4 separate regions of the Homo sapiens genome follow, and regions 2, 3 and 4 are each linked to region 1. The links are contacts of gene promoters, found by promoter capture Hi-C in blood cells and fetal thymus (Javierre and others, 2016). All regions are on one chromosome and are shown on one strand. The core of a region is centred on a gene start or on the middle of the fragment in contact, and the rest is flanking DNA. Distances in the headings are between cores, read along the strand shown. Region 1 holds the start of DCUN1D3 (defective in cullin neddylation 1 domain containing 3). Region 2 overlaps CDR2 (cerebellar degeneration related protein 2). Region 3 holds the start of POLR3E (RNA polymerase III subunit E). Region 4 holds the start of TRL-TAG3-1 (tRNA-Leu (anticodon TAG) 3-1).

The links. Contacts are between HindIII fragments. The CHiCAGO score rates a contact against its expected background, and 5 or more counts as called.
Region 2: a fragment that was not itself captured here is called in contact with the fragment with the promoter of DCUN1D3 in region 1 in 1 of 17 cell types (erythroblasts); the score reaches 5.6 in erythroblasts.
Region 3: a contact is called between the fragment with the promoter of POLR3E here and the fragment with the promoter of DCUN1D3 in region 1, in 1 of 17 cell types (erythroblasts). The highest score is 5.5, in erythroblasts.
Region 4: a fragment that was not itself captured here is called in contact with the fragment with the promoter of DCUN1D3 in region 1 in 1 of 17 cell types (total B cells); the score reaches 5.8 in total B cells.

The regions. Positions count from the first base shown.
Region 1 is chr16:20,895,635-20,902,871 of GRCh38, reverse strand. DCUN1D3 (defective in cullin neddylation 1 domain containing 3) reads left to right here and starts at 2,514. Exons shown (of 3, transcript NM_173475.4): 1 at 2,514-2,668. LYRM1 (LYR motif containing 1) reads right to left here and starts at 2,101. Exons shown (of 4, transcript NM_001128302.3): 1 at 1,983-2,101. RefSeq lists enhancers at 1,124-1,909, 1,910-2,695, 2,905-2,954. The HindIII fragment of the contact is 5,697 bases long and covers 1-3,425 here.
Region 2 is chr16:22,348,719-22,355,955 of GRCh38, reverse strand. It overlaps CDR2 (cerebellar degeneration related protein 2), which reads left to right. Exons shown (of 5, transcript NM_001802.2): 3 at 6,107-6,255; 4 at 6,513-6,677. Among named protein-coding and RNA genes, the nearest start is that of CDR2, 22 kb to the left of the region's middle. The HindIII fragment of the contact is 181 bases long and covers 2,882-3,062 here.
Region 3 is chr16:22,293,611-22,300,847 of GRCh38, reverse strand. It overlaps POLR3E (RNA polymerase III subunit E), which reads right to left and starts at 3,439. Exons shown (of 21, transcript NM_018119.4): 1 at 3,311-3,439. TRL-AAG2-4 (tRNA-Leu (anticodon AAG) 2-4) reads right to left here and starts at 3,708; the gene lies at 3,627-3,708. RefSeq lists silencers at 66-360, 2,219-2,358, 3,369-3,818 and enhancers at 2,569-2,708, 3,151-3,695. The HindIII fragment of the contact is 19,375 bases long and covers 1-7,237 here.
Region 4 is chr16:22,190,093-22,197,329 of GRCh38, reverse strand. SDR42E2 (short chain dehydrogenase/reductase family 42E, member 2) reads right to left here. Exons shown (of 13, transcript NM_001394319.2): 13 at 5,579-7,191. The coding sequence ends at 6,937. It overlaps TRL-TAG3-1 (tRNA-Leu (anticodon TAG) 3-1), which reads left to right and starts at 1,538; the gene lies at 1,538-1,619. RefSeq lists silencers at 1,073-1,152, 6,724-6,823, 6,964-7,013, 7,104-7,193 and enhancers at 1,903-2,032, 5,624-5,683, 6,184-6,263, 6,519-7,018. The HindIII fragment of the contact is 2,795 bases long and covers 1,727-4,521 here.

The sequences.
Region 1 (7,237 bases), core at 1,265-3,764:
CACAGTGTTCCTGCCCAGCTACAACCACCATATGGACAAGGCTCTGTACCAGGAGCCAGGAAGACACAAATAAGAAACAGTACCTGGGGGAGACAGCCATATAAACAGACAATTTATCCAAAAAGTCAGGTTTTCTATAACGGACACAAATTACCTGAGCACAAGTCCAAAAGCACTGACAGCTGGGAGAGGGAGGGAGGGAAGAGATTTGAGCCAGGACTTAGCTTCTACTTGCTGCGGGTAGAAGCTGGCAAGCGGGTGGATGAGATTCACTGATTACGGGGATGGGTCCCATTATTCCAGGATATTAAGGGGCCTCTTCCTTTGATCTCTGAGGTCTTGTCTGTGTCGTCTCCTTTGCTGGCTTCTCCTTCTCTGGGTACTCTCTAAATGGTAAGAACCCAAGGGATTTAGGGGTCTTCCTCTTTTATTTACACGCTCTTCTTAGGTGATCTGGGAGCTCCTCCCTGCCTTCCTTATTTATTATCTCCAACTATGATTTTTCCCCGACTTGTATATCTAACTTCTTGACAACTTCATTTGACTTGTTAATAGACTTATCAAACTTAATATGTTCAAAAGAGAACTTTCGATATTCCTTTCTAAACTGTTTTCCCGTAGGGAGTTAACCTTGGTTCCTCCCTCTCCTACACACTTCACATCCAATTCCCCAGCAAGTCCTGCAAGCACTACCTCCCAAATATATGCTGAATGGAATTCTCTCCATTTCCACTGTGACTGAGGGCCTTTTCTTTTTTCTTAAGACGGAGTCTCACTCCGTTGCCCAGGCTGGAGTGAAGTGGCGCGATCTTGGCTCACTGCAACCTCCACCTCCCGGGTTCAAGCGATTCTCCTGAGTAGCAGAGATTACAGGCGCGTGCCACTACGCCCAGCTGATTTTTGTATTTTTAGTAGAGATGGGGTTTCACCATGTTGGCCAGGATGATCTCGATCTCCTGACCTCGTGATCCGCCCGCCTAGGCCTCCCAAAGTACTGGGTTTATAGGCGTGAGCCACCGCGCCCGGCCGGCCCTTTCAACACTATCTTCACCTCTCCTTTGTCTTACAGTGCAACAGTCTCCTAACAGGTCTAACTACTTCCACCCTTCTCTATCCAGCAGGCAGAGCGGATTTTTAAAAATGTAAATCAGGTCAGGTCACTTCCCTTCTTAAAACCCTTAAGGTACACATTAGCCAAACCCCTGCCTTGGGCTAAAAGGCGCTGCTACAGTCATGCCACTTCCCCAACTACATCACAGGGCACTCCGGCCCTGGCTCTGTTTGCTTCAGCCACATGGCCTTCTGGCTGTTTCCAACCTAAAAGTCCTTCTCATTGGCTCTTCTCTCCACCCAGAAAACCCATTGTCTCGGATCCCCGCAAAACCGTGGCCTCCTTTGAACGACCTTACCCGATTTCGAGGGGCCCTCCCCCCATCTTCTGTCACCTCATCCGGTCTTTGGGGGGCATTTCTCACTTGCTGATACCTTCTTTATTGATTTACTTAACTCTCTCCTGCACACGAATGGAAGGTAACGGAGCAACACCCTACTCTCAGGTTTGAAGAGCAAGAGAATTACGAAGCTGGCTCTCACGGTCCTAGGGAGTCTCCGTTCCTGTACGGGACCTGGTGTGGGTCAACGTTCCCCAGCCAGACACCTCTCGCCCCCGGACCGGCCCCTACCATCTCCCATTTACATTCGGGGGTCCAAAAGATTCACAGCCTCCGAGGGGGCCCCACGCCGGCACCTGAGCGTCCCCACACCAGGCCTCCCCTCTTGGACGCGCGAGCCACTTCCGTGAGGCAGGTCCCCGAGGCCGGTGGCGATGACACCGAGCCGCCCCCGCGAAGCTGGGGTCACACAGGCCCGTCTCCCGGCAACGCCGCAGCCCAACCTCCAAACCATCCCTGCCCGTGGGGAGCCAACCCCTTCCCCGCCAGTCTCCCGCGCCTGGAGTCGGCGCCTCCATCCCCTACACTCACTCTGCGTCAGTCCTGCCTTCCCCCACCCACAGAAGCGCGCAGCCCGCGGCGGGCTGGGAGGAGGCGGCGCCAGGAGCCCAGCAGAGCCGTGGCCGACCGAGCACAGGCTGGTCCAGTAGGCCAGGCCGGACCAAACCACCGGGCCCACCTCTGTGGGAGCACCAGTTCCAGGTCTGGGGGAGTCTCGACTGACTGACTCTACCCATCTCCCGCCGCATCCAACAATAAGCTGAGCTCCTCCTCCCCCTATTTTTCCTTTACGCTTTCATTATCCTCCCCGCTCCATTCCCGTAAAACAAGAAAAAAAAATGGTCCAGCCCAGCTCCCTCCGGGTTGCTAGGTCTTTGCCCTTACTTGGCGACGGCTTCGTACGTCTTTATGTGCGTCGTGACGCAATCTTCCACTCGTTCCCTCCTTGCCCCTCTCCCATTCTCCCTCCTGGAGCTGGCGGCCGGCGGGGTTACCGGAAGTGATGATGCAGGAGGCGATGGAGGGGGCGGGGCTTCGGGGCGGCCGCCGCCGGTGGGCCGCAGATGAAGAGGAGGCGGTGGCAGTGGTGGAAGAAGAGGCGGCGGCGGCGGGGGTAGGGAGCCTGGAAACGCGAGCGGGGATGGTAGGTGGTTTGGACCCGCCGGGCCGCCGTCGTTTCCAGAAAGGGTTTGACTGGAGGAACCTCTGGAGCAGCTGTGAGTTTTGGGGAGGGGGGGAGTTGAGGAAAAGGCGGGGGGGCATTGAGAGATGAAGGGGCGGGGGTTGGGTACCTTCGAGAAAGGGGGGTGGAAAGGGAGGAGTGGAAGTCAGCGCGTTGTCTGGAGTGGTACCTCTGAAAGAAGAGGCTGTGAGGGGAGCCTGTGGCGTGTCAGCCGCAGGGCTCAGAAAACTTACCTACTGTCCCTGCCTCCCCACCGCCAGCACCCCTCAACCCAGGGCCTGGGGATATGGGGTTGGAGCTGCCCTGGAGGGGGTGCAGACTCTGGTCCTCTGTCCTGGGTGAGCGCTGTGAGGTAGGAGCCCTAGGGGGAGGTGGTGGGTGAATCTCCCAGCTCCCTCCGCCCTCATTTCCCTCCCCACCCCCATCGTTCTCTTTAATCATTAACAGCCCTGGAATTAAGGGGCTCAGACCTGAAGGCCTTTTTGTGCACCTTTGCTATAAACGATAACCATCTGTGTCCGAGGTAATGAGGCTGGAGGCTTTGCCTGTATCCTCTATAGGAAGTGGGACGGGGTGACAAATGTATTGTTTGTTCCTCCACCACACCCCCCGCACTTCTCACCCCTCATCCTCCCCCATGCACACCCCTGGTTTCCACTTTAATTCTCTGTGGCTGAGTGGCAATAGTGGATTTTTTTTTCTTCCCCTTTCCTCCTTTATGGCACTTAGTGCCTTGGTTACCTCTTTTGAATTTGGTGTTCAGCCTCTATCCCAGATCTTAACTGTAAGCTTTGTAATACTTCATACAGGCTGTCACGTTGGGAGTACCTCTTACGCTCCGATTATAATGAGCATTTTCTTTTATGAATACTGGAATTCCAGAGCCTTTGCAAGGAATCCTGAATGGCATCATAGCCCAGGAATCAAGGTCTCTTGCTCGAAATACTTTATGTGTGAGGAATTTACATGTTGTCAGCTCTTCCCAAAATGATTTGCTAGGCTAATTCTGGATTTCTGTGTTTCTCTCCACCCACTTTTCATGATGCACTTCAGAGAACAGAAAACCCCATATTACTTTTTTGTTTCTACAATTGGACAATAGCTCTTTTATGTTTTTCTCCATTTATGTGTGACACACAAATCATCAGTGACACGTTCAGCTTGTGCTGATTTTCATCTTTACGTAGCTGATTCTTTGTGTATGGGGGTCCTAAATGAGACAGTGTGATCTGTTTAGTTTTGGTTTAAGGGCGAATACAAACCAATAACGGATGTGAAAAAATTATTTGAAGCAAAGAATGGAAAGAAGGCCTCTTTGTTGATATGCTGTTGGTTTAAAAAAAATCAAGGAGCACTCTTCTAGCCTCTCAGACAGATATCAGAGTGAAGTGTTATGATTTTCCTTTTGGTGTTGATACATTCTTCGGAAATCTTTTGTAGAATCTGAAACTGTTTTCTGAAGAACTTTAAGAGATAGTGCCTACATTTTCGGAGTCCTTTGATTAGAAAGTGCCCGTAAGTCCTGTCCTTCTGTAACTGAGCTTGATATGCATAGTGCTAGGAAGATCTGATGCTAGGAAGTCCTATTCAGGGCTTTCGGGCCCTAAAAAACAGAATATTTAATGCTTGATTATACCAGTAACAGCGTGTTTAGATGTTTCACAAAAATACAACAGAAGAATGACTACTGTTCTCACTTTAACTGATTTAGAACCTAGTTTGCCATTGACTAAAAAGTTCACAGTTCATTAATTCAACAAACATTTATTGACTCCTAAGTGCTAGCCAGTGTTTCAGGCACTGGGTGTACACAGGTGAACACAAGCAAAAGGTTCACCCTTTCATGGAGCTTACATCGGAGTGGGAGCTGGGGACAGAGAGAGACATAATATATATCCCAGTAAACCAGATTTTGATCAAGCGCTGAAGAAAATAAGAGTGATGTGATTGAAAGTGTCTTAACTGTAGATGCAGTCAAAGAGGATCTTTCTGAGGAAGTGACACTTAAGTTGAGCTTTAAGTATAAAGAAGGAGCCAGCCATCCAAAGAAAAGGGGAAGATCCTTCCAGGTTCAGGGAACAGCTGGTGCAGAAACTGGCTGGAATGCGCTTGTCAAGTTCCAGGGAATGGGAAGAAAGGGTCAGGGTAGGTGGGAGGTAGTGGAAAGAGGATGGGTTGGGTGAGTAATAGCCAGAGCTTAGTGAACACGGGGGAGAGTTGGAGATAAGGTCAGAGAGGTGGATATGGGGCTCAGAATAGGTAGGCAAACAAATTGCCAGAAGGAGTAGGAAGTAGAAAATGATGCTGCTTGTTGATTAATTCTGTCGCCTTAACTAGGGTCTTATCACTTACTGTTTTTGCAGGTACTGTTGGACTATCATAATAAAGTCACTCTGCTGAGTGGGAGAGGAAGAGGCAGTGGTCACCTGGGTCTTTTCTGGCAGATAAATTTCAAGCTGGGTGTTCAGATTTTCAGCAGGATGTTCAATTGAGGACACACCTCTTTCTTTATTTTGTCTTATATACTGCTGTTTAAAACTGCATAATAAGTTCTCTGAATGTGTTCTAGTATACGAATCCTCCTTTGTTTCCAGCTCTGTATGAATTTAAGGACTGGGCAAGTGTTAATAATATGCCCTTATCCATCTACCAAGATGACCATCAGGATCTAAGTTTCAAGTTGTCTTTTGTAGGGAGGCAGTTTATGTTGCAATAGTTCCACTCTTGTCTGATCCTTCTGATGACTAATAACACTCAGCTGAGGTGTAGGTTGGTACTAAAAGTTCACTCAGTGGATTACATTAGATAAATGACCATTGTGGGGCTCAATTCCACTGTGTCGGCATCTTTGGGCTGGCACGTAACCAAGGGATGTAACCTACTTTTGCCTTCTGCTGAGGGCATTCATCTCTAATGGTGTGCTGCTTTTCAGCCTCACCTTGACCAGACCGTCCACTTGAGAGGCCCAATCAAGACTCCTTGATTTGGCCCTCTTGAGCCATGTCACACTGGGCTGAAACAGAATATGCTTTTTTCTTCTCTTGAACCCTACAACAGTGACTAGTGTGTTCTTTGAGTGAATTGGCTCTTTGAGCCAGGCAGTTGAGAGACTTAAATGTTGCTTGGGCTATTTGTAGTAAACTCAGTATTAGAAATGCTAAATAAAACCTTTTAGTGTTTGGGGAAAACGAATCAGAAATTGAGGACTTGTCACCTGTTTTAGGTTCTAGTATTCTCGTGGCACCTGTAGAAGGATTATCGAAAACTTGAACAGAGCTTTCTGGGCAGTTCTGGGGGCAATGAAGGGGACGAGGTAGATCCTGGTACTGAATTACTAATTCTGATTTGATTGCAAACAGAATGTCTTTTAGTTAGCAAGCAAATGACTAAAGTAAACATCTAGGAACAGGCAACTTCTACTCTTCATACTAGAGTATCTCAAAGGAATAGAGAATTGGTAGTGAGATTTGTTAATTTAATTATTTGGCTTTGGCCCAGGTTAAAGGTTTTGGACTTAACTTATATGCTGATGCTTGGCATAAAATGCTCTATCTGATGGGTTATTAAGCTCTCCACTTCATTTTCATTTCAATGGTTTATTGTAACTCAAATATGAAAATATCCTGTAGGCTGAAGTTTCATCAGCCAGTTTGGAGACTGGTGGCTCTTTTCTAATTTTTGAAAGGGGGCGGGTGGGTAGGAGGGGACTTGAACACAAGGAGAAGCCATTGTCTCCTACATTGGCTACTAATTGTGTTTGGGGAAAGAATCCACAAATTTAAGTGGATTGGATTTTCGGAGCTGAGCTGGCCTTTTAATTTAGGGTACCAGTGGATTTATTTCTTACACTTTGCAGGCTTTTGGACAAACTCTTCTGAAAGGTGGGCAACCTAGAAAGCCAGTTGATGCCACTTGCTATTGGAGTTGTGGGTAAGTGGTTTTACATTGCATTACACGACTAAAAGGTAATCAGATTTTGCTACTGTTTTGGTGTACAGATGCTCTTTGATTTACAGTGGGGTTACCTTTTATAACCCCATCATAAGTTGAAAATATTGTTAGTAAAAAAATGCATTTAATATACCTCACCTACCGAACATCATAGCTTAGCCTAGCCTACCTTAAACATGCCAAGAACCTGCATGTTTGGCATGTTTGGCAAATGCATCTAATGAGCCTATTTTATAATAAAATATTGAATATCTCATGTAATTTATTGAGTGAATACTGGAAGTGAAAAACAGAATGGTTGTGTAAGTACTTGAAGTAGTCTGGGACTGTCTATGTGCTGAAGTAAGGACATTTAATTGTGCAGTAGTTGCCAGTTGTTTTGAGGTGAAGAAGTGGTAACTTAGATTGAAACAATGGTAATGACGTGGTAACTCCTGTTTTCCCGGGTCTTGATAACTTAAAATTATCTCTTTGTGTCTGTTTAGACTGTTCTGGAGCTCTTTGCACAATGGACCAGGGTTAATTGAGTTAGTGTCTTTCAGTTCAAATCTAGTTTCACTAGTTCTTACGTCTGTGTTCCTAGATGATGGTGAATCCTATTCTTTTGGGTGGTGAGAAGGGATTACCACAGAACTTGACCGTTTAATCAGTG
Region 2 (7,237 bases), core at 1,723-4,222, 1.5 Mb before region 1:
TATTGCCTCTGTCAAAAGAAAAAATTACGACAAACATAGTATAAAGATCTTAATTAGCTTTTATTTGAGATTCTAAAGTTGGGCAACACCTCATTCTTAGAGAATGAGGGTTTCAATGAGCTGAGCAGAGGAAGTTGGTTTTATAGACAGGGGCTGAGGAAAGCAGAAACAGAAAACAAAAAATGGGTGGTTTCAAAGTTAATTTATTTGTAAAGGTTAAAGCAGAGGGAAGTCCCTTATGCTGGCTAAAACTGGCATGTTTGGGGGCTTGGCTATTATCTCTTCTAATTTCTCAGAAGTCAGATGAACAACTTTGCTTTGGCTTGCTGACATGGAACTTTAGCACAAGTGACTCCATTTTGGTTTGGTTTGTTGGGCCTAGGGCAGGGACTCAGTCCAAACCAGTGGTCTCCTATAAATTTTAACAGATCTATTAGTACTTGAAAGAAATGTCAAATTTCATTTAGAAGTTAACAAAAATGAAGATGTAGCTGTTCAGACCCTTTAAATTCATCCATGTTCACAGACCCTCTAAAGTCTATCCATGGACCCCAGGCTAAGAACTGCTGGCTTAGGTGGAGCAGCCAGGAGAACTGCATCCCCCCGGATAGGGGATCGTAAAGGCATTAGAGGAGGGAGGCACTTGCCTTGCAGTGGGGCAACTCCAAAAAAGGCAAAGATATCTCCCCTAAGTGTGAAATTTTAAAAAAATCAATAGCTAACAAATGAAGCTGGAAAAACCACTTGAGACAATTGGGAAAATATTAATGCTGAAACGTAATAGATGTTAAGGAATTATTGAGTTTTTTTCCCTTAGGAATTGTGGTTAAAATAAAACGTCCTAGAAATGTATGAAGATGTATACTTGAGATGCCTTGGATTAGCTTTAAAATGATTGGAGGACGAGGAAAGTAGGAGAGTAGAGATGAAATAAGATTGGCTGTATGTTGATAATTGTTGAAACTGGTTGATGGGTACGTGGGAGTTCATTAAACCATTTCTCTGCATGTATATATGTTTGAGATTATCCACAATAGAAAGTTTTATTTATTTATTTATTTTTAGACATAGTCTCACTCTGTCGCCCAGGCTGGAGTGCAATGGTGTGATCTTATCTCACTGCAACCTTTGCCTCCTGGGTTCAAGTGATTCTCATGCCTCAGCCTCCCAAGTAGCTGGGACTACAGGCGTGTGCCACCATGCCTAACTAATTTTTTTTTTTTTTTTTTAAGTAGAGATGGAGTTTCACCATGTTGGCCAGGCTGGTCTCGAACTCCTGTCCTCAAGTGATCCACCCGCCTTGGCCTCCCAAAGTGCTGGGATTACAGGCATGAGCCACCACACCTGGTCCACAATAGAAAGTTTTAAAATGCAGTGGATAAGATTAGCCATCTGTAGAAATTCAGTATTTGTTTGGACTGAGAAGTTAGGAAGGATCACTCAAGCAAGGTTAAGGTAACTAGTTTGTAATTTCAGGGAATTAATGATTGTTAAGAACATACCAAAGTGAAGCGTTATGATGATGAATGCTGCTGTGGTACAGTTAAAATATAACCTAATCTTAGTGGATAACTGCATCTAAGCTGAGCCCTATGCAGGGAGACGGTGAGCATTAAGCTGAAGAGTCATCATTGATCCAGTGAATGCCTGTGTCTCCTAGACCCAAGAGAAAAGGACATTGGTCAGGGCAGGGGACGTCCAGGATTTTCCATGTCCAAGATCAACATTTCTCTAAGTGTGATCTCTGGACTGCCTGTACTAATATCACCTGGGTTTGTTGCTAAAAATGCAGAATCCTGGCTCTACTCCAGTCTCAGCCGTTTGAGGGGAAGGGACCCAGGTTCTTACACTTTAATAAATCTTCTTCCAGGTGAATCTTAGCACATGTAAAGTTTGAAAACTGTAGCTTTAAATAAAGATGACAGTAGCTTCTCCTTATTGAGCAATTTACCATCTGCCAGATCTCATGCTGAGCTCTCTACATATATTAACGTTTTTGTAAATTATATATTTGTATATGTCAGGGAGGAAAAATATTTTTTTCCTCAACCTTCATGAGTGCTTAGTTGGAAAGGACCCCTGCAACAAAAGACAGATTAACAAGAGAAAAACAAGCTTACTAACATATCTATTTCATTTATATGTGTGGGAGATACCCAGGGGATGAGTCATTCTCAGAGGTGGCTTTGAATTCCAGCTTATGTAGTATCTTCAACAAAGAATGGTAATTTTTTAGAGAAGTGACAAGACAAAGGGGAAGAACTTTGTCTAGGGGCAGAACTTGTGGGAAGGCAAGTAAGTGGTGATAAAGGCCCGTTAGCAAAGCTTGTTAGTGTGGATTCCTCTGGTGCTGTCTTCTGGCCCATAAAGGTCTAAAGTTGTTAGTGGTTAACCTTTGTTCTCCCTGGTAGAGAGGGAGGAGGCAGGAACCTTTTTATGCCAAAGACGCATGCTTTGGGGTGACATAGTCCAGTCTCTCCCACACACATATTTATCTTTACAGCCTTATGAAGTAGTTGATGAGGAGAACTCACATTAGAAAAATGTGCTTGCTGTAGGTTACCCAGTTCTAAACAGCAAAGCAAGACCTCAAACCAGGTTCTGACTCCAAAGCCTGTGCTCTTAGCTACTATACCACTGCCTCCCATCAGACTCCTCTGATCCCATGTCTACCAGAGACTCTCATTCATGAATCGGCCTTTCACATGCCCTTTGTGGGGCAGCTGTGTCCTAATAGAGGATGTGAATATTCTTGTCACTGGGCAGGAACAGTTCCTGTTGTATATTAATAAATTAATGTCTGGCTTATGCATTAGCCTTTTTAAAGGTAGTTCTGAGTCCTAAAGAATACTTGATAATTTATACTTGATATAAAGAAGCTTGAAACATTTCTGCAGCTATTATATATATATTCTTGTGATTCTAAGCCTTTTTTCCGCTCCTGTGGAATCTCATCAATTCCTAAGAGATTGAACATGTTCCCATCAATGACAAGAACCTACTATGGAATTACTAGCCCGAGGGCAGGATTAAGGGCCTACTCCTTTAGTTCTGAGAAAGCTTCACGCATGAGAATTAGTGGTTGATTTCCAAAGGACCAGAAGAAGCTGGTGGGAGTTGAGGCAGTGAAGACTACACACAGGCTTTTATAGACCGTGCCATGTGCTCACCTTTCTCATTTAATTCTGCCAGTTCTACATGGTAGGTACTAACAGATCCACTTACTAATTCCGAACTCAAAAAGCTCTATAAAGCAAGATTTTTTTTTTCCCCTTAAATTTGCAACAGATTCATTTGGTAGTAGATCTTTACCTGAACTGATGTGAGGCTGTTTATAGTCTTAGTTCATACTTTTTGATGCAGAAATATTAATGCTTGATTACAGGGTGCTGCCCAGACCTCACAGGTATTATAAGGTGTCAGCTGTGTGTCAGGTATGAGCGCCATGTTGTCTTTCTAAAATTTAAAGAATTTTCCAAAACACTTTTGACTTCAAGAGTTTCAGATGAGAAAGTTGAAGTTAGGTTAAGTGTTTGTTCAACTCTTTGCTGCTGAGTTATGTAAATGGATTTGAAAAAAAAAAAGCCATATATGCTTTTTTCAACACTTTAAGGGCCCGTTGAGTGTCATTTAGCCCATTGTTTGTTAGCCTTGCAAATCCTTCTAGAGTTGTAGAAAAAGCCTCAAGAAGAGTGTGTTGTGTTGTGTTTGAGACAGTCTCTGTCACCCAGGCTGTAGTGCAGTGGCACGATCTCGGTTCACTGCAACGTTCACCTCCCACGTTCAAAAGATTCTCATGCCTCAGCCTCCTGAGTACGTGGGATTACAGGCGCGTGCCACCACGCCGGACTAATTTTTGTATTTTTATTAGAGGTGGGTTTTTGTCATGTTGGCCAGGCTGGTCTTGAACTCCTGGCCTGCCTTAAGCAATCTGCCTGTTTTGGCCTCCCAAAGTGTTGGGATTACAGGTGTGAGCCACCATGCCTGGCCAAGAAGAGTGTTTTTAAAGTCAAGTTCTGAGTCTTTTACAGTTTGATCATCAGTAAGCTTCAAACCATTTCTCCCCTCTTTCTGGTTCTGTCCAGGGAAATACTGTGACTTTTTCCTTTGGAATATATACTGTGTTTTAGTGTCTTCAGGTAGAGCTGAGCAGGGAGGGAATCAAGGTGACTTACACTGCGGCATTAAGGTTGGGATTATTCCCCTTTATCCTTGGCCATTTAGGAAGCAGTCTTAGCAGGACCAGAATAAATCATCTGATAAATTTCTCGTGAATAAGGAGGATAATGGTGATAAAACTCTCATAAAATTAAAAATAACAGGAGTCTTTGAAGCATATTAAGCTAAAATATATTTCTCGTCAAAGCAACATACTTTTCATTTTTTTTGGTCCAGAATGCCTCATTCAGAGAAAGAGATTGATTTTTTTTTCCAAATTAAGATCCTCCACATAGAAATAGGAACGTTTTACACTGTTGGTGGGAGTGTAAATTAGTTCAACCATTGTGGAAGACAGGGTGTCAATTCCTCAAGGATCTAGAACTAGAATTACCATTTGACCCAGCAGTCCCATTACTGGGTATGTACCCAAAGTATCATAAATCATGCTGCTATAAAGACGCATGCACACGTATGTTTATTGCGGCACTATTCACAATAGCAAAGACTTGGAACCAACCCAAATGTCCATCAGTTGATAGACTGGATTAAGAAAATGTGGCACATGTACACCATGGAATACTATGCAGCCATAAAAAAGGATGAGTTCATGTCCTTTGCAGGGACATGGATGAAGCCGGAAACCATCATTCTCAGCAAACTATCACAAGGACAGAAAACCAAACACTGCATGTTCTCACTCATAGGTGGGAATTGAACAACGAGATCATTTGGGCACAGGGTGGGGAACATCACACACTGGGGCCTGTCGGGGTGGGGATAGCATTAGGAGAAATACCTAATGTAAATGATGAGTTGATGGGTGCAGCAAACCAACATGTCACATGTATACCTATGTATCAAACCTGCACATTGTGCACATGTACCCTAGAACTTAGAGTATAATTTTTTTTAAAAATCCTCCACGTTAGGCTTTATTTCTGTTAAACATGATGTTTTTGCTTAAACTTTGATCACATGTTCCATGTTTTTTGTCTTAAGGGATTGTTATGTCTCACTTTAGATTTTTTAGTTGAATATTAATTTTATGCATGGTATATGCTTTGGAAAATTAGCCTCACAATGCACTGGGGTATTGGTGAGCATTAGAGGAGCTAAGCATATAAAGGACAGCCTGTGCTCATTTCTTATGAAGACAGGGAGTTTAATTTCTTCTTTTCTTAAAATAAACATATGGTATTGTGGTATAATAAAAATTATATATTTGGTCTTTGTCCCTGGTTTCTGGCATAGAACTCCTAAAACCCTTGGAATTTCCTGATAGGTTGAGGTCTGGTCACCAGAGAAGGCAACCACATGATTAGAGGGTTAGATCTATCAGTCCCAGCCCCACAACCTCTGGATAGAGGGAAGGGTTGGAGCTTGAGTTCAGTCACCAATGGCCAATAATTGAATCAATCATGCTGATGTGAGAGAAGACCTGGAGAAAACTGAAATGGGTCTAAAGGAGCTTCTGGGCAGTGCTGGGAGGCCAGTGAGCCCAGAGATGGAGACTCTATGTCAGCCCCACCCCAACAAGAGTTGGTGCTGACAATCGGAGAATTGGTGTTGGAACAGCAGAACAGCAGGTATCTTTTTTTTTTTTTTGAGATGGAGTTTCATTCTTGTTGCCCAGGCTGGAGTGCAATGGCGCCATCTCGGCTCATTGCAACCTCTGTCTTCCAGGTTCAAGCAATTTTCCTGCCTCAGCCTCCCAAGTAGCTGGGATTACAGGCGTGTGCCACCACACCTGGCTAATTTTTGTATTTTTAGTGGAGACGGGGTTTCAGCATGTTGGTCAGGCTGGTCTCGAATTCCTAACCTCAGGTGATCCACACGTCTTGGCCTCCCAAAGTGCTGGGATTACAGGCGTGAGCCACCGCAGCCAGCCAAGAAACAGCAGGTATCTTATCTGTTTGTGTCACCTGGTCCTGATCTTCTCTTACAGTATCTGACGAAGCAAGTGGAACTTCTACGGCAGATGAACGAACAACATGCAAAGGTTTATGAACAATTAGACGTCACAGCAAGGGAACTGGAAGAAACAAATCAAAAGCTAGTTGCTGACAGCAAGGCCTCACAGCAAAAGATTCTGAGGTAAATTTTCTAGAATCTGACAAGGAAGGACTAGGGGGAAGTTCTTTAGTATAAACTAGAATAGAACATGGCTGCAGTGGGTTTGGGTCAATATGGGATAAGGTTTAATTTAATTCTTTTTGGAGAATGGAGATTAAATAGACATCCTTTCCAATTAAGAAAGCCCAGTGTGAGTGGTTTGCACCTAATCTCTCCTCACCGCTTTTGCCCTTGATTCAATATGACAAGCAGCAGTGGCTTCTGTCTGTTCCTCACAGCCTGACTGAAACGATTGAATGCCTGCAAACCAACATTGATCACCTCCAGAGCCAAGTGGAGGAGCTGAAGTCATCTGGCCAAGGGAGAAGGAGCCCGGGAAAGTGTGACCAGGAGAAACCGGCACCCAGCTTTGCATGTCTGAAGGAGCTGTATGACCTCCGCCAGTAAGAGCCTGCCTTTCTGTGGAGTTACAGCAGGGACTGTCTCATGTCATTGGCACATTCTGATTTCCAGTAGATTGAAAGTACCATTTTAAGAAAAGTCACTTAGCTATTAAGCTACCATTGGTTTGAACAAAATCACTTAAACATATAAATTACAGAGTTCTTAGATATTAGTAGTTCTCATTTTGAAAGTCTTGGAACACTTATTTCAGTGTTTTTAATGTATTAAATCATAGTTTAAGATGAATTCTGATAGACTAGATTTGGGAGTTGTGTTTTACATTAGAGTGAAGAAAAACAGAAATACTGGTAAAACAAAAATTCAAGCGAACAGGAGATTTTTTGCTTAAAGAAGTACCTTTATAATTTAGAGTTATAAGTCTGAATCTTTAAGAAGTATTTATGGAACACTTGTGTGGCAAGCTGTATGCTAGACCCAAGGGTTGGCGAGCAAAATAGTTTCTACCCCTGTGAGCTTTCAGTCTAACGGAACGGCAGATAAGCAAATAAAAACACAAATAAATAGTCAAGGTGCTTCAGACTGAGCAGGAGAAACCAGG
Region 3 (7,237 bases), core at 2,190-4,689, 1.4 Mb before region 1:
ATAAATGAACCATGGGAATGCTATTTAATAGGAAGCTACAGAAGGATTTCGGGCAGAGGAAGACATGGAGCGGGTAGAAAGAGAAACTTCAGGGAAACAGCTATCGTAACAGTCCCAGAGATGGAGGATGGAATGAAAATCAGGAGTCGCATCTGGACAGTTTCAGTGCATCTCGACTGTCTGCTGTGCAGACAGAGGGCAGTGTAGAGCGGAGAGCCCAAGGCCTCACCCCATCTGCACCGGCTGCCAAGTGCCACAGATATGTCAAGCTCCTGCCTTCTCTGCAGCTGGGCAGTGGACAACTGAGAGGCTGGGGCCTGGGAGGTTCCCAAGACGCAATTGTTCTTTCTTGGCTATTGCTATGCCCTGTTGGCCTCTGCCCTGCCAGGGATCAGGGAGGCTGAGGTGCCCTGTCAGCTAGAGAGCTGGAGCTCCTTCCTCTGGATAGTACATCTGGGTTGATACAAAGAGTGTCACCTCCCTTCATCCTCCAGGCCGAGGTGATCCAACTCAGTGGCTTTCAAAGTTTTCAGCCTAAGATCCACCACAGTAAGAAATCCATCTCATATAAATAACCCAGAACATACATACAGTTGCATAACTGAAACAAGGTTTCACGTAACTATAACTGTCCCTACTATATGTCAGGCCGTGATGTTTTCTACTTCATTCAAAACAAAAAATGCTAGCTTCAATTCCCTTAAATTGATTTTACTTCCCACTAATAAATTTTAACCTGCAATGTGAAAAGCACTCATCCAAGTCTCCCTACGGCTCCTTATACCTACCTCCAAGTCTCCCAGCAACAGTGAGTCTTTGGAAAGAAGTAAATCAGGCTGGCATGGTGGCTCATGCCGGTAATCCCAACACTTTGGGAGGCTTAGGTGGAAGGACTGCTTGAGACCAGGAGTTCGAGACCAGCCTGAGCAACATAGTGAGGCGCCCCCCGCCCCCCGGTCTCTCTTTAAAAAAAAATTTTAGCCTGGCATGGCCTGCAGTCCCAACTACTTGGGAAGCTGAGGCAGCAGGATTGGTTGAACCCAGGAGTTTGAGGCTGCAGTGAGCTATGATCACACCACTGCGCTCCATCCTGGGTCACAGTGTGAGACTCGATCTCTACTGGGGGGAAAACAAAGCCAGGCACGGTGGCTCACACCTGTAATCCCAGCACTTTGGGAGGCCGAGGCAGGCGGATCACCTGAGGTCAGGAGTTCCAGAAAAGCCTGGCCAATAAGGTGAAACCCCGTCTCTACTTAAAATACAAAAATTAGCCAGGCGTGGTGATGCACGCCTGTAATCCCAGCTACTCGGGAGGCTGAGGCAGAAGAATCACTTGAACCCAGAAGGCAGAGGTTGCAGTGAGCCGAGATCTTGCCACTGCACTCTAGTCTGGGCAACGGAACAAGACTCCATCTCAAAAAAAAAAAAAAAAAAAAAGTAAATCATATTATTTCCCTGCCTAAGACCTGTCAACTGCCACTGTCACATAAAATAAAACCCAAACTCCTTTCCATGAGCCACCTAAGGCCCTACATAATCTTGTCTCTGTCTTCCCCTCACCATCCAGGCTGGTAGCCACTTGCTGGGCCTCCAACAAGGCAAGCCCCAGTCCACCCCAGGTCCTTTGCACATCATCTATTCTCCCACAGGGATTTCCAAGGTTGCTCCTTTTTATTAAATATCATCACCGCCTGCAGGAGAGGATAGGTTCCCTGACCACCCTATTTTAAAAGCCTCCCCCAGCCTCCTCCCAGGCCCTACCACATCTCTGTTTTCTTTCCTTGGTGGGTCTCATCTTAATCTGGAACTACCTGGTCTATTTGCTCAGGTGTTGTTTGTCTTCTGCAATAGAACGTAAGCTCCATGAAGGCTTCTCAGTGCTTCAGTTTCCTCAACTATGAAATGCAGACAATCATACTTTACTTCATCAAAGCTGTTATGGGGAGCATTACTTTAAAAAAAAAATCCAGTGCTGGTTCTCTCAATACCTAGAACAGTGCCTGGCACGAAGTTGACACTCAATATAGTACAAAGAATACTTTATATTTAATCTTCTCATTAGCCCTATCAATAGAGATTTATCATCTTCAATTTGGAAATGACGAGACTGAGGTTCAGATATAAGCAACTCATCCAAGGTGGAATGAGGACAGAAACTTGGGTCTCGCTATGTCAAAGATCCTTATTCTTATTCTTAACCACTATACTGCACGGTTTTCTGATAAACGGCAGTATGGTTAAGTGGGTAAGAGCTTGGACCCGAGAACAAAACTGTGCAGGTTCAAATCCCACCACAGCTGCTTGGCATCTGTGACCCACCTGAGTTGTCTGGGTTTGGTATTCCTCCCTATTTTCATCCCTAAAGTAGGGAAACTAAGTACCGACCTCCAGACCCCTGCGGGGAAGGAGTAAGGACAGGACGCTAATAAACGTAACCTCTGGGAAGGTTTGTTATTACTTGACAACATGTTTTCTGCCAACGTAAGCGGGTAATGACGCTAAGCCACAAGTCAAACGCTGCAAGCAGGAGCGTCACCCGGTTTCTACTGAGCCGTCACCACAACCCTATGAGGTAGGAATTTCTATTATCTCTATTTCACAGATGAGGAAACTGTGGAGATCGCTAAGATCTCTTCTTTCCGCCTCCAAGCCCAAGGAATTCTAAAGCTAACCCAAAGGAACGACCTTGTTTGTTTACTGACACCTCCTCGGACCGAATGGTCAGGGCTGTATCCGGAACACAGAGTTGGCTCGGTAAACACTGAATGGTTGCCTGAATAAATGAATGAGGAATCCCTGGCCTCGCCGGGCAGAGGCTAATCCGGTTCAGCTGCGAAGTGGGGGCTCCGGCAGGCGCAGGTGCCCTCCCTGCCCATCGGGGCGGGCCGCCGATCCCGAGCCTCGCTGTCCAATGGGTTTCTGCTCCCTCGCGGGTGGTCAGGCCCCCCTTCTCACGCCCACCACGCAGTCCCTGCCGCGAGCCGCCACTACACCCGACGCGCGGACAGGTGTTTCTTCCGTAGGAGGCCTCCCAGGCCCGGATAGGGCAGGTCGGCTGGACCCTGAGTCACCGCCGCCAGCGTCGGCCGCGGCCTCCCCAACTCCCAGGTGTCAGGTCAAGGAAGTCAGAGTCCGGGGTCGGCCTGGAGCCGGCTGCCCCTCCTCCCCGCCCGAGTCCCGAGAGGCCTCCAGCTGCTAGGCACAGCGCGGCGCGGGCCTCCTTGGCCTACTCGGGAATCTAGCCCAGGCCCACGTCGTGAGTGCGGTCCGGCTCAAGCCCCAGCTCGGGCACTGCCAAGACGGGACTCACCTCTCCGCGGGGGCCGAGCGCGGACGGCGGCAACGGCCCAGTTACCCGCGGGCTGCAGAGACGGCGGCGGCCCGGCTCTCCTCTCAGGCGGCGGCCATGTTGCTGGTGGAGAAACTCCGGCGGACACGTGGGGGGGAGCGGGCCGGCCCCAGCGTTTCCTCTTACCCACAATGCCCCGCCCCGGTGCACGCGGCTCCGCCCCCTCCGCCGCGCCATTCATGCAGGCCGTGAGCCCCGCCCTGCAGCAGGGGGCGCTGATGGCACGCGCAAAACTGAGCCAGGAGTGTATGCAGCGGGGACAAAAAGACAGCAACCCTGGCAGCGGTGGGATTCGAACCCACGCCCCCGAAGAGACTGGAGCCTTAATCCAGCGCCTTAGACCGCTCGGCCACGCTACCCAGCTGCAATATGTTTATGCCAGAAAGCTACTTAATGCTTTTGCTTTTGCATTTAATCTGGACATTGCGAGGCGTTTTCGCTGAGGTTTTTTTTTTGCTTAACGTGTGTTCAAGGTGATCCCTATAGAATTATTTTAAAAAGCCGTGTTTTGGAAAATAAACACTTGCTCCAGTCTTTAGACCCAGGTTGGTTCCGAATAGGTATTAGAGCAAAACGCATTTTTAGAAACTTTACTCTGAGTTGGATGGTTAACCCGGAGACCCCTGGTTAACCCACAGGTAATCCATACGACCCGGATTGGGTGTCTCCGGGAGAAGAAATTGATCTGATCAGAAACATGCACCAGGGGATCTGACGGCCAAACCCTGGAGCTGGTCTGGGCAGTTGTCTCTGAAAAATTATGTTTAAATTTTTACTTACACAAATAACACGCGAATTATTGCAAAATATTTAAACTTTGCAGATAAGGTACAAATGCTCTTTGACCTTGACTCGCATCCTAGGCCCCTCCGCCGAGGTAACTAACCATTATTATCTGTTTAATATGAACTATGGTTTGAATGTGTCCCCCAAATTTCATGTGTTGGAAATTTAATCCCCAATGTGGCAGTATTGTGTGGTGGGCCCTTTAAGAGGTGATTAGATCATGAGGGTGGAGCCCTTATGAATGGATTAATCTCTTCATGGATTCATGGATTAATGGGTTAATGGATTAATGGGTTATCTTGGGAGGGGGACTGATGGCTTTATAAGAAGAGGGAGAGAGACCTTAGCTAGCAAGGGAGCAGCTCAGCACCCCCTCCATATGATGGCTTGTACTGCCTGGGAACTCTGCAGGTGTCCCCCACCAGCAAGAAGGCCCTCACCAGATGCACACTCTTGACCTTGGACTTCTCAGACTCCATAACTGTAAGAAATAACTTCCTTTTCTTTACAAATTACCCAGTTTCAGGTATTCTGTTATAAGCAACAGAAAATGGACTAAAACACTATATATCTTTCTAGATCTTTTGCTGTGAATTTATATGTTTATATCTATATGGATATATATAGATATAGCCATAGAAGATAGCTTTGTTTTTATTGTGTATGGATTTGAACACAAATATTGTCACATTATTCATATAGATCTGCAATTGGCTGTTATTTTTCACCAGACTGTATTTTAAAATACCTATCCGTGTGGATATGCAAAGATATTAAAAACAAAAATGCACAAAAATTACAAAGAAAAAAATTATCATCCATAGTGCCACCACCTGGCATTAAATTAATGACTTAGTATTGTGGCATTTTTTTCCTTTTCTTTTTTCTTTTCTTTTTTTTTTTTTTTTTTTTTTTTTTTTTTGATGTGGAGTCTCGCTCTTGCTGTCTAGGCTGGAGTGCAGTGGTGCGATCTCCGCTCACTGCAATCTCTGCCTCCTGGGTTCAAGCGTCTCTACTAAAAATACAAAAATTAGCCTGGCGTGGTGGCACATGCCTGTAATCCCAGCTACTCGGGAGGCTGAGGCGGGAGAGTTGCTTGAACCCGGGAGGCGGAGGTTGCAGCGAGCCGAGATCCCACCACTGCACTCTAGCCTGGGCGACAGTGAGAAACTCGGTCTCAAATAAATAAATAAATAAATAAATAAATAAATAAATAAATAAATAAAAAATAGATCACACTATTACAAATAGAAATTATTAGACCATTGCAAATAGAAATAAGTCCCCCTCCCATTCTCCCCTGTCTATAACTGTCATGAATTTGATGTGTATCTTTCCAATAATTTCTTACATTTTTACTATAAAATTTATGAATAATATCTAAAATGGTTATCTGTATGTTTTTCACTTATATAAATGTTAGCACATTGTACTGATATCCTAAAACTTGCTTTTCTCATTTCAACAGTATTATTATTATTATTATTTTAAGAGAGTGTTGCTCTGTCACCCAGGCTAGAGTACAGTGGTGCAATCATAGCTTACTGTAGCCTAGACCTCCCGGGCTCAAGCCATCCTCCCACCTCAGCTTCCCAAGTAGCCAAGATTACAGGCATGAGAGACTGTGCCAGGCCCAACATTATGTTTTTGAGGTCTGTTATGATGCCTATAGATCTAATTCATTCATTCCATGCCATGTACAACTTTTAAGTTGTTACTAAATTTTTGTCATTACACACAATATGGCAGGAAGTATCCTTGCACATGGCTCCTTGTCTTACGTATGGACATTTCTCTAGGGTATACACTAGAAATGAAATTGCTGGTCTATATTTATACTTTCCCTAGTATTATATAATAATAATATTAATAATAGGCTGGTCTCAGTGGCTCACTCCTATAATCCTAGCACTTTGGGAGACTGAGGTGGCAGGATTGCTTGACGCCAGGAGTTCAAGACCAGCCTAAGCAACATCGAGAAACCTTGTCTCTACCAAAAAACAAAAGAAAAGAAATTAGCCGGGCATGGTGGCATGTGCCTGTAGTCTCAGCTACTTGGGAGGCCGAGGTGGGAAGATCCTTTGAGCCAGGGAGGTCAAGTCTGCAGTGAGCCGAGATTCAGGTGCTGCACTCCAGCCTGGGTGAGAGAGTGAGACCCTCTCTATATAGATATAGATATGCATATATTTTTCCATTTTGCCAAATTATATGACTTTTGATGACTTTTTTTTTTTTTCTATTTCTTCCTGAGTCAACTTTGGCAAGTTGTCGTTTTCTGGGAAAACAAAGCCCCATTACTTGATTTTTCACATTTATTGGCGTAAGAAATCTCAAATATCCCTCATATCTAAGGTTTTGTCCTCTATCATTCTCTATCGTTTCTCTTTCCCTCTGTCATTTACGTGGATTACTTTCTCCATTAGTTCTGTTCAACACAGGGAGTGGAGTCAATGCTTAAGGTGACTGAATGGGGGAATTAGGCAGGAACTCTACGAACGCTGGTGATGCTTTAGACACATCAAAAACTATATAAATCACACTTTTATAAGTAGAATTCTCATTTTGCATTGACTGGTATTAGACTTTTCAGGGCCATGATTCAAGTTTCTGGCTAATATCCAGTTGGTACACACCCCTAACATTTGGGCATTTTATGTCTTTCCTCTTCAATCCCTCCTTAGCCTGGCTTTTCTCCCCCTCCATCCACCACCTTTTTTTTTTTTTTTTTTAGAGAGACGGGGTCTTGCTTTGTTGCCCAGGCTGGAGTACAGTGGTATGATCACAGCTCACTGCAGCCTTGACATCCTGGGCTCAAATGATCCTCCCATCTCAGCCTCCCAAGTAGCTGGGACTAGAGCCACGCGCCACCACACTGGGCTAACTTTTGTATTTTTGTAGAGACGGGGTCTTGCTTTGCTGCTTAGGCTGATCTCAAGCTATCCTCCCACCTCAGCCTCCCAAAGTGCTAGAATTACAGGAGTGAGCCACCACACCTGGCCATCCATCTACCTTTAACATATGTAATGATATGCAAAGATTTTCTTGTGCTAGAAAAGTTTGTTGCTCTTCAAGACATTAAAAAAAAATACAGAAGCAGCCATG
Region 4 (7,237 bases), core at 1,875-4,374, 1.3 Mb before region 1:
ACCTCCCAAAGTGCTGGGATTACAGGCATGAGCCATCGCGCCTGGCTACCTGTTTCTTTCTTATAAGGACTTTTGTGATTATATTGGGACCACCTGGATAATCCAGGCTCCTCTCCCCATCAGAAGATCCTTAATTTAATCACAACTGCAAAAGTCCCTTTTGCCACGGAAGGTAACATATTTACACGTTCAAGTGTGGGCATCTTTAGGGGTCATTATACAGACTGCCACTCCCACTTACCCAACTGTCTCTACAACCTTGGATTTTTGTTTGCCATTTTCCTTAAACGTGCAAGGAAATAGACAACCCTATGTGATTGTGAAATTAGGAAAATGCATACTGAAAAGATGGGAAACTCCTGAAAGAGAAGGAAGGGGGAATAGAACTTGGGGACATCAAAGGAGACTTGAATTTTATCTAGAGTGTTAATTTTAATTTTAATTTAAACAATTTCAGGCCAGGCGCGGTGGCTCACGTCTGTAATCCCAGCCCTTTGGGAGGCCGAGGCGGGCGGATCACCTGAGGTCAGGAGTTCGAGACCAGCCTGACCAATATGATGAAACCCCGTCTCTACTAAAAATGCAAAAATTAGCCGGGCGTTGGTGGCATGCGACTGTAATCCCAGCTACTTGGGAGGCTGAGACAGGAGAATCGCTTGAACCTGGAAGATGGAGGTTGCAGTGAGCCGAGATCGCGCCATTGCACTCCAGCCTGGGCAACAGGAGCGAAACTCAGTCTCAGGAAAAAAAAAAAAAAAAAAATTGAAGCGAATATGCAAAATGTTAGTAATAATTCGAGATGATAGGAAATGGAATTTTGCTAGGTTATACTCTATATTTATTGCTTTTTTTTTTTTTTTCTAAAAGCACTAAAATCCTCTGCACGTACGAACAAACGTCTTGGGAGGCTGTGGAATGCCGGCTGGCTGGGGCACCCGAGGCTAGTTACTTAGCATCTCTATTTTCCTCCTCTGTAAAATGGGTCGCACAGCTTATGAAAGCTTAATAGTTTTTGATATGTTAGGAGCCCACACATGCAAAGAATCTGCAACAACGTTCAATGGTTTTCCTCCCTGAACTCTTGATTCTTACATCGCGAGGGCAAGGGCTAGGACATGAGGCCACTCAGGGCTACAGAGGGGCCTTGAACTGGACAGAGCGTCTGCACCTTGGGGACCCAACATACAAACTGGGGCTCCACGCAAGATCCCGGCCCACCCGGGAGGAAGCGGCAGCACGGGAGCGCCCCTACGTGGCTGTAGGCAGGATCACGCCCAAGGAAAACTCAAAATCAAATCCAAACACACTTGTGAGGATTTAATATTAAAAATATTAATTTTTGATATGTAGGCACTCTTCATTTTAATAGTGCGTTCCTAGTGTGTTTACTGCTGCTGATCGCGAGAGCACTGTGACTCCAAGTCTCCGTGAGCAACGCAGGAGACAGCGGTTCTATATTGAGCATGCGCAAACTTTGAGGGCGGGGCGCCTCCGTCATCACACTAATATGCCGGCATAGGAAGCCCTACGATCGGGAGGTAGCGTGGCCGAGTGGTCTAAGGCGCTGGATTTAGGCTCCAGTCATTTCGATGGCGTGGGTTCGAATCCCACCGCTGCCACACCTCAGAAGGTCTCACTTTTCTATCCATAAACCATCTCTTTATGTAGTCCTTTGCCAACTTCTCTTCCTTTTTTCTCCTTTCTGATGTATTTCTTTTTTAAAGCTTTAGATTGCTTATAATGGATTTTTTTTAATGGAAGGGGGAAGGGAAGAGAAAAGGCAGAAACTGCAGTGCAGGCTCTTTCACTGTCTAGCCCAATACACAAACCTCTCTTTCACCTACCCATCCAGCTCCCTCAAAACAAAACAAAAAAACAAAACACATCTCCCCATTTCCAGGGGAAAGCATCTGAGCTAGCTTGAAAAGTTCCCAACAGCCTGTCTGGGTCTTCCTGGGGTTAGTTGGGGGTGGTTGTAATCATGACCTGAGTTAGGGACGGGGGTCCCTTTCTGGCCTGCTCCGTGTACTTTAGAGGGCTCCAGGGACCCCATAAACCTCTGTTGTCAGGTGACCCTGGAGTAGTAGGGGTCTGGCCCTATGTGGGGGTGCCAACCTTGAGGTCTCTGCTTCATTGATTCACCTCTTACTTGGTTTTCAGGCTTGATTTAGGGGCCTTCATTTATAAACAGTTGTTGAGCTGTTTATGAAGGGCCTACTATGTGCCAGAAACCGTGCTCGTCCTGAGGCTGTGGTGGTGTACAAGGCAGGCATGTTTTTGAACCCATCGACTTTGCAGACATTGTCATTTTAATTAATTACACCTGTGAGGAGTGTTAGGCAGTACAGCATGCTAACCTGGCCCCTGAGAAGCAAGGAAGTGACATTTAGCTGGGGCCTGAAATTGAGATTAGCCAAGTGAAGGCGTGGGAGGGGATTTCCAAGAGGGAACTCCTAAAGAGCCTGGTAAGGCTGAGACGCTGTGAAGGTAATTCAGGGCAGCTGCACAGAGAGTGGAGGTGGAGTATTGGCAATAGGTGAGGCGAAGAGACAGGCAAAGAGGGCCATGAATGCCGAGTTAAGGCTTTGAACTTGGTCCCTTCCCAAGGGCAATGGGAAACCATGGAAGGCTTTTGAGCTAGAGAGTGGCATGTTCCAATTTGGAATTTAGAAAGTTCACTGGTTGGGCACGGTGGCTCACACCTGTAATTCCAGCACTTTGGGAGGCTGAGGCGGGTGGGTCACCTGAGGTTAGGAGTTTGAGACCAGCCTGGCCAACACGGTGAAACCCCGTCTCTACCAAAAATACAAAATTTAGCTGGGCATGGTGGTACGCACCTGTAATCCCAGCTATTTGGGAGGCTGAGACAGGAGAATTGCTTGAACCTGGGAGGCGGAGGTTGCAGTGAGCCGAGATCGCACCACTGCACTCCAGTCTGGGCGATTGAGTGAAACTCCGTGTCAAAAAAAAGAGAAAGAAACAAAGAAACAAAGAAAGAAAAGAAAGTTCCCGCTGGCAGCAGGGACAGGAGGTCCCATTCAATGCCTATTGCAATTGTCTAGGAGAAAGGACAGTGGTTTGTACCACAATAGTGGCCGGGTGCGGGACAGAAGGAGTGAGTCAGGGAGACATTTTAGAGATAGATTTGACAGAATCCACAGATGAGCATGTCGAGAAGAAGAGGATCACGTCAAAAGTGACGCCCAGGATTTGGGCTTGGGTCATTGGATGGCTGGTGGTGCCTCTCCTCTCCTGGGAGGGAACACAAGATAGATGGAAAGCAGGTTTGTGGGAGATGATGACTTCAGTTTGATTTTCATTGAGCTGGAGATTCTTGTGGGATATGGGGTTGAGTAGGAGGTTGGACATAGATTTCTGGAGGTCAAGAGAGCACTCCAAGGAAATGATACAGATTTGGGAGGTATTAGAGACTGAGGCCATGGGAAGGGATGAACTCATCCAGAAAGATCCCACAGAGGGAGAAGAGGGGCCAAGACAGAGACCCGAGAGACATCATCTTAAAGGGAGGGCAGTGGAAGAAAAGCCAGTGAAAGAGATGCGAAAGAGACGGGAAAGGACTGGCCAGCAATATACGTGGAAAACAGGTGTGGTTTCATAGAGACCAAGAAATGCGGATCAAGAAGGAGGGGGCAGTCAACTATGCTGAACACAGCTAAGATAATTGGCAAAATAAAGACGGAAAAATATCTATTAAGATTTATGGACAAGATCATTGATGATCTGAAAGCCATTTTGGAATGGGTTGAGGAGAAGAAATGGAAACATAAGTATGGTCAATTCATCACAAAATTTGATTTTGAAAAGGAGGAGCAAAAGGAACAGTTGTGGGAGGGAAAATGGGGGAATCAAAGGAGGATTTTTTTAAATTTTAAAGATGGGGTCTCACCCTGTTGCCCAGGCTGGAGTGTAGTGGTGCAATCATAGCTTACTGCAGACTCAAACTCCTGGACTCAAGTGATTCTCTTGCCTCAGCCTCCTGGGTGCCACCACACCTGGCTAATTAAAAAAAATTTTTTTTTATGTAGAAGCAGGGTTCTCACCAAATCGCCCAGGGTGGTTTTGAACTCCCGACCTCAAGCAATCCTCCAGCCTTAGCCTCCCAAAATGTTGGGATTACAGGTGTGAGCCACTGTGCCCTGCTGGGAAGATATTTTCAAGATGAGAGAGACTTGAGGATGTTTTAGATGCCTGGCATTGGGTTTACAACTGGGAATAGCTTCAGCACCCATAATGGAAAGCCTATGAGTTTGTCTTGATAATCCCTTCAGATCGACTATGTCACCTTGGGCTGCCCACTGTGACAATTCTGTTTTCTGCATTTGCGATGCTTCTCTTTAGCGTCTCCAAGTAAGCTAGAACCTCCTACTTGCCCTTTCAGAACCTCATGGAGGCTAGTGGTCTGGGCAGTCTCAAAAATTCTTACAGTGATTCAGTTTTCCTGTTGGGTGGGGATGCCACCTCCTTTTCCATTGGATAAAGATGCTTGAAAGGAAAAAAGCTTTTTTGACATAGCGATCCATGTTGTCCCCATGCCCAGGGTTTACACATTCTGCTTCCAGAGTGTTAGGAAATAGATGAGTTGGAGAAATCCAGAAAACAAATAAATTGATTCTTGGCTTTTGGATTTTCAAAAGTAGGTTTGGCACTAGTCAAAAGATCTAGAAAATAACGTGAGCAGTGTGAGATTGTTTTTCCTGCTCGAAGAACAGATTTCCCAGGATTAGCAGGGAGAAGAAAGAGAGGAAGGAAGTGAGTTTGGATGTAAACATGTTATCGAGAGGAAAGGAAGCCCCAGGACCGCCAGCTTCAAATGGTCCGAGGTTTGCGGCTCTGAGAGAACGAGACCAGAGTTCAACCGCAAGCCTTGGCATGGCCAGAGTGTAGAAGAGTAGAAGTTACCACGTGTTGTGTTTAGGCCAGTGGCGGCTTAGGCGGTGCTCCTCCAAATTCCCCCAGCTGTAGAGCAGAAACCCCCACCCTCCTCTGCTCTTTGGAATGAGACAAAGCCCCAGTTTTCGTCATCTATAAAAGGAGAGTAATAAACCCTATTTAAGAGTAGCTGTAAGAATTAAATAAGATCACATAGATGAAAGCTCTTTTACACTGTCAAGCATTAAACAGACATAGGATTATTATTCTTTCAAAAATTATATACACACATAAAATTCAGCCTAGCAGAGAGGAGCATACATTTTTTTTTAGCTCCTTCCCAAACTGCTCACCTTGTTCAGCAGAGTGGGACACACACTGCGGTGGCCATGTTGGTTCTGATGAGCCCTTTCGATCCCATCCACCTCAGGCTTGTGGTGCTTTTCTTCTCTGCCAGTCCCACGTGTGCATATTATGATCTATACATGGTTGTATTTACACACTGATGTCTTGGTACTTACAACTGATAACTGATACCAAGATGATAGGAGGCGAAGTTTCTGTGGAGAGCAGGGCTAGATAAAGAAGTTTCGTGACCTTAAACTTTAAAGATTATGGTGATTACCACTACCTCTAATTAATAAATAGAAACAGTACTAAATCATAAAATATAACCAACTAAACTCTATTTTTCCCATTATAGCTTTATTGGTACTTCATCGAGACATCCAATTATTTTAAGAGTTTTTTTTTTTAAATTTTTCATGCTCTTTCTGGTACTAAAACCTGTGCTTACTATGCTGTCATCCTCAGACAGGAACCCAAAAAGGCCAAGTCGGGCTCGGCAGAAGCTTGAGTCTCGGTTTTTCCCCAAACCCTGGCTGTCAACACACAGATCTGTGTGAATGAGAAGCCCAGAACATTGGGTCGGGGTGGATCGAATGCAATGTTACCAGACAGAGCAGCAGCCGACGGCGCAAACTCATACCAACGTCACCCGAGCCTGCGTTAGCCCATAGCGACGCGGCAGCCTGGTTCCGGGGAGAACCTACCCGGGAGGCGGAGCTGGAAAGGGGTGAAGCCAGAGAGGGAGGGGGCGGGGCCAGGACTCAATTACACGCGAGAAGGGCGGGACCGGGTCCAGAGGCAGGAGCAAGGACAGACCCAAAAGGAGAAGCCAAAGGGTGGGCTCAAGCGCGCGGGGAGGACCAGAAAGGGGGCGAAACCAGAATGAGGGAGAATCTGGGGGTGGGCCGGGACTGGGCAGGGACTAGGAGAAGGTCCAGAAGGCGGAGGAAGCTGTGAGCCTTGGCCCATATCAGAAACCGGACAGGCCGGAGGGAGGAAAAAAGGGGCAGGGCCAGGGCCTGGAGGGAGGGTCATGGACGTAGGAAAGATTCAGGGGGCGGGACAGAGGCGTGACCAGGACTCAGAAGGCGTGCCCAAACATGGAAGGGCGGGAAGGGGCGTGGCTATGACATGAAGGCGGGGTTAGGCCTGGAGAGCGGCTCAGGACTAGGCTCTGAAGTCAGGGGGCGGGGAAGAGGCGTGCCCAAGCCGTGAAGCAGGGGCGGGGTTATAAAACGGGGGCGGGGCTAGGTCTGGAGGTCTGCTCAGGGGCTAGGCCAGGAAATCAGTGAGCGGGGAAGAAGGCGTGCCCAATTTGAAGGGCGGGTCAAGGGCGTGGTCAAAACATGGAAAGAGACTCGGGGCTACGCGTCTGGGCCGACCAGGGACGTGGCCAGGATTCAGGGGGCGGAGCAGGAGCGTGCCCACTTCGGAGGGCGGGGCGGGACAGGACAGGGGCGGGGCCAAAACACAGGAAGGGCGCAAGGCAAGGTCTGGGAGTAGATAGGGGCGTGGCCAGAAGTCGGCGGTCCGGGCTAGGTCTGGAGAGCGGCTCGGGGGCGTGACCAGGATTCAAGGGGCGGAGCGGAGGCGCGCTCAAACCCAGAAGGCGGGGCAGGGGCTGGTACAAGCCCAGGGAGCCGGGCGTGGGCGAGGGTGCAGCGGGGCCGACCCTAGCGGGCGGCGGACGGCGGACGGTCACAGGCGCTCCACGGCGGCGTGCAGAGGCTGCAGGCCTAGGAAGTGCAGGGCCAGGGCGAGCAAGCCGAGGAACAGCAGCAGCCTGAGCAGCAGGCGCAGGAGGGTCCGCGCCGTGGAGCCGCGGGGCCGCCGGGTCGTGGACTGCACGTATAGCTCCACGGCGTCGGCGAACCTAAACTTATCCGGCGCGTAGCCGAGCTGGGCGCGGGCCTTGGCTATCTGGAAGGTGTGCGTCACGGCCACGCTGCGCACCTGCGGGGACAGGCGGGGCATCCGAGGGCGGGCCTCGTGGGAGGAG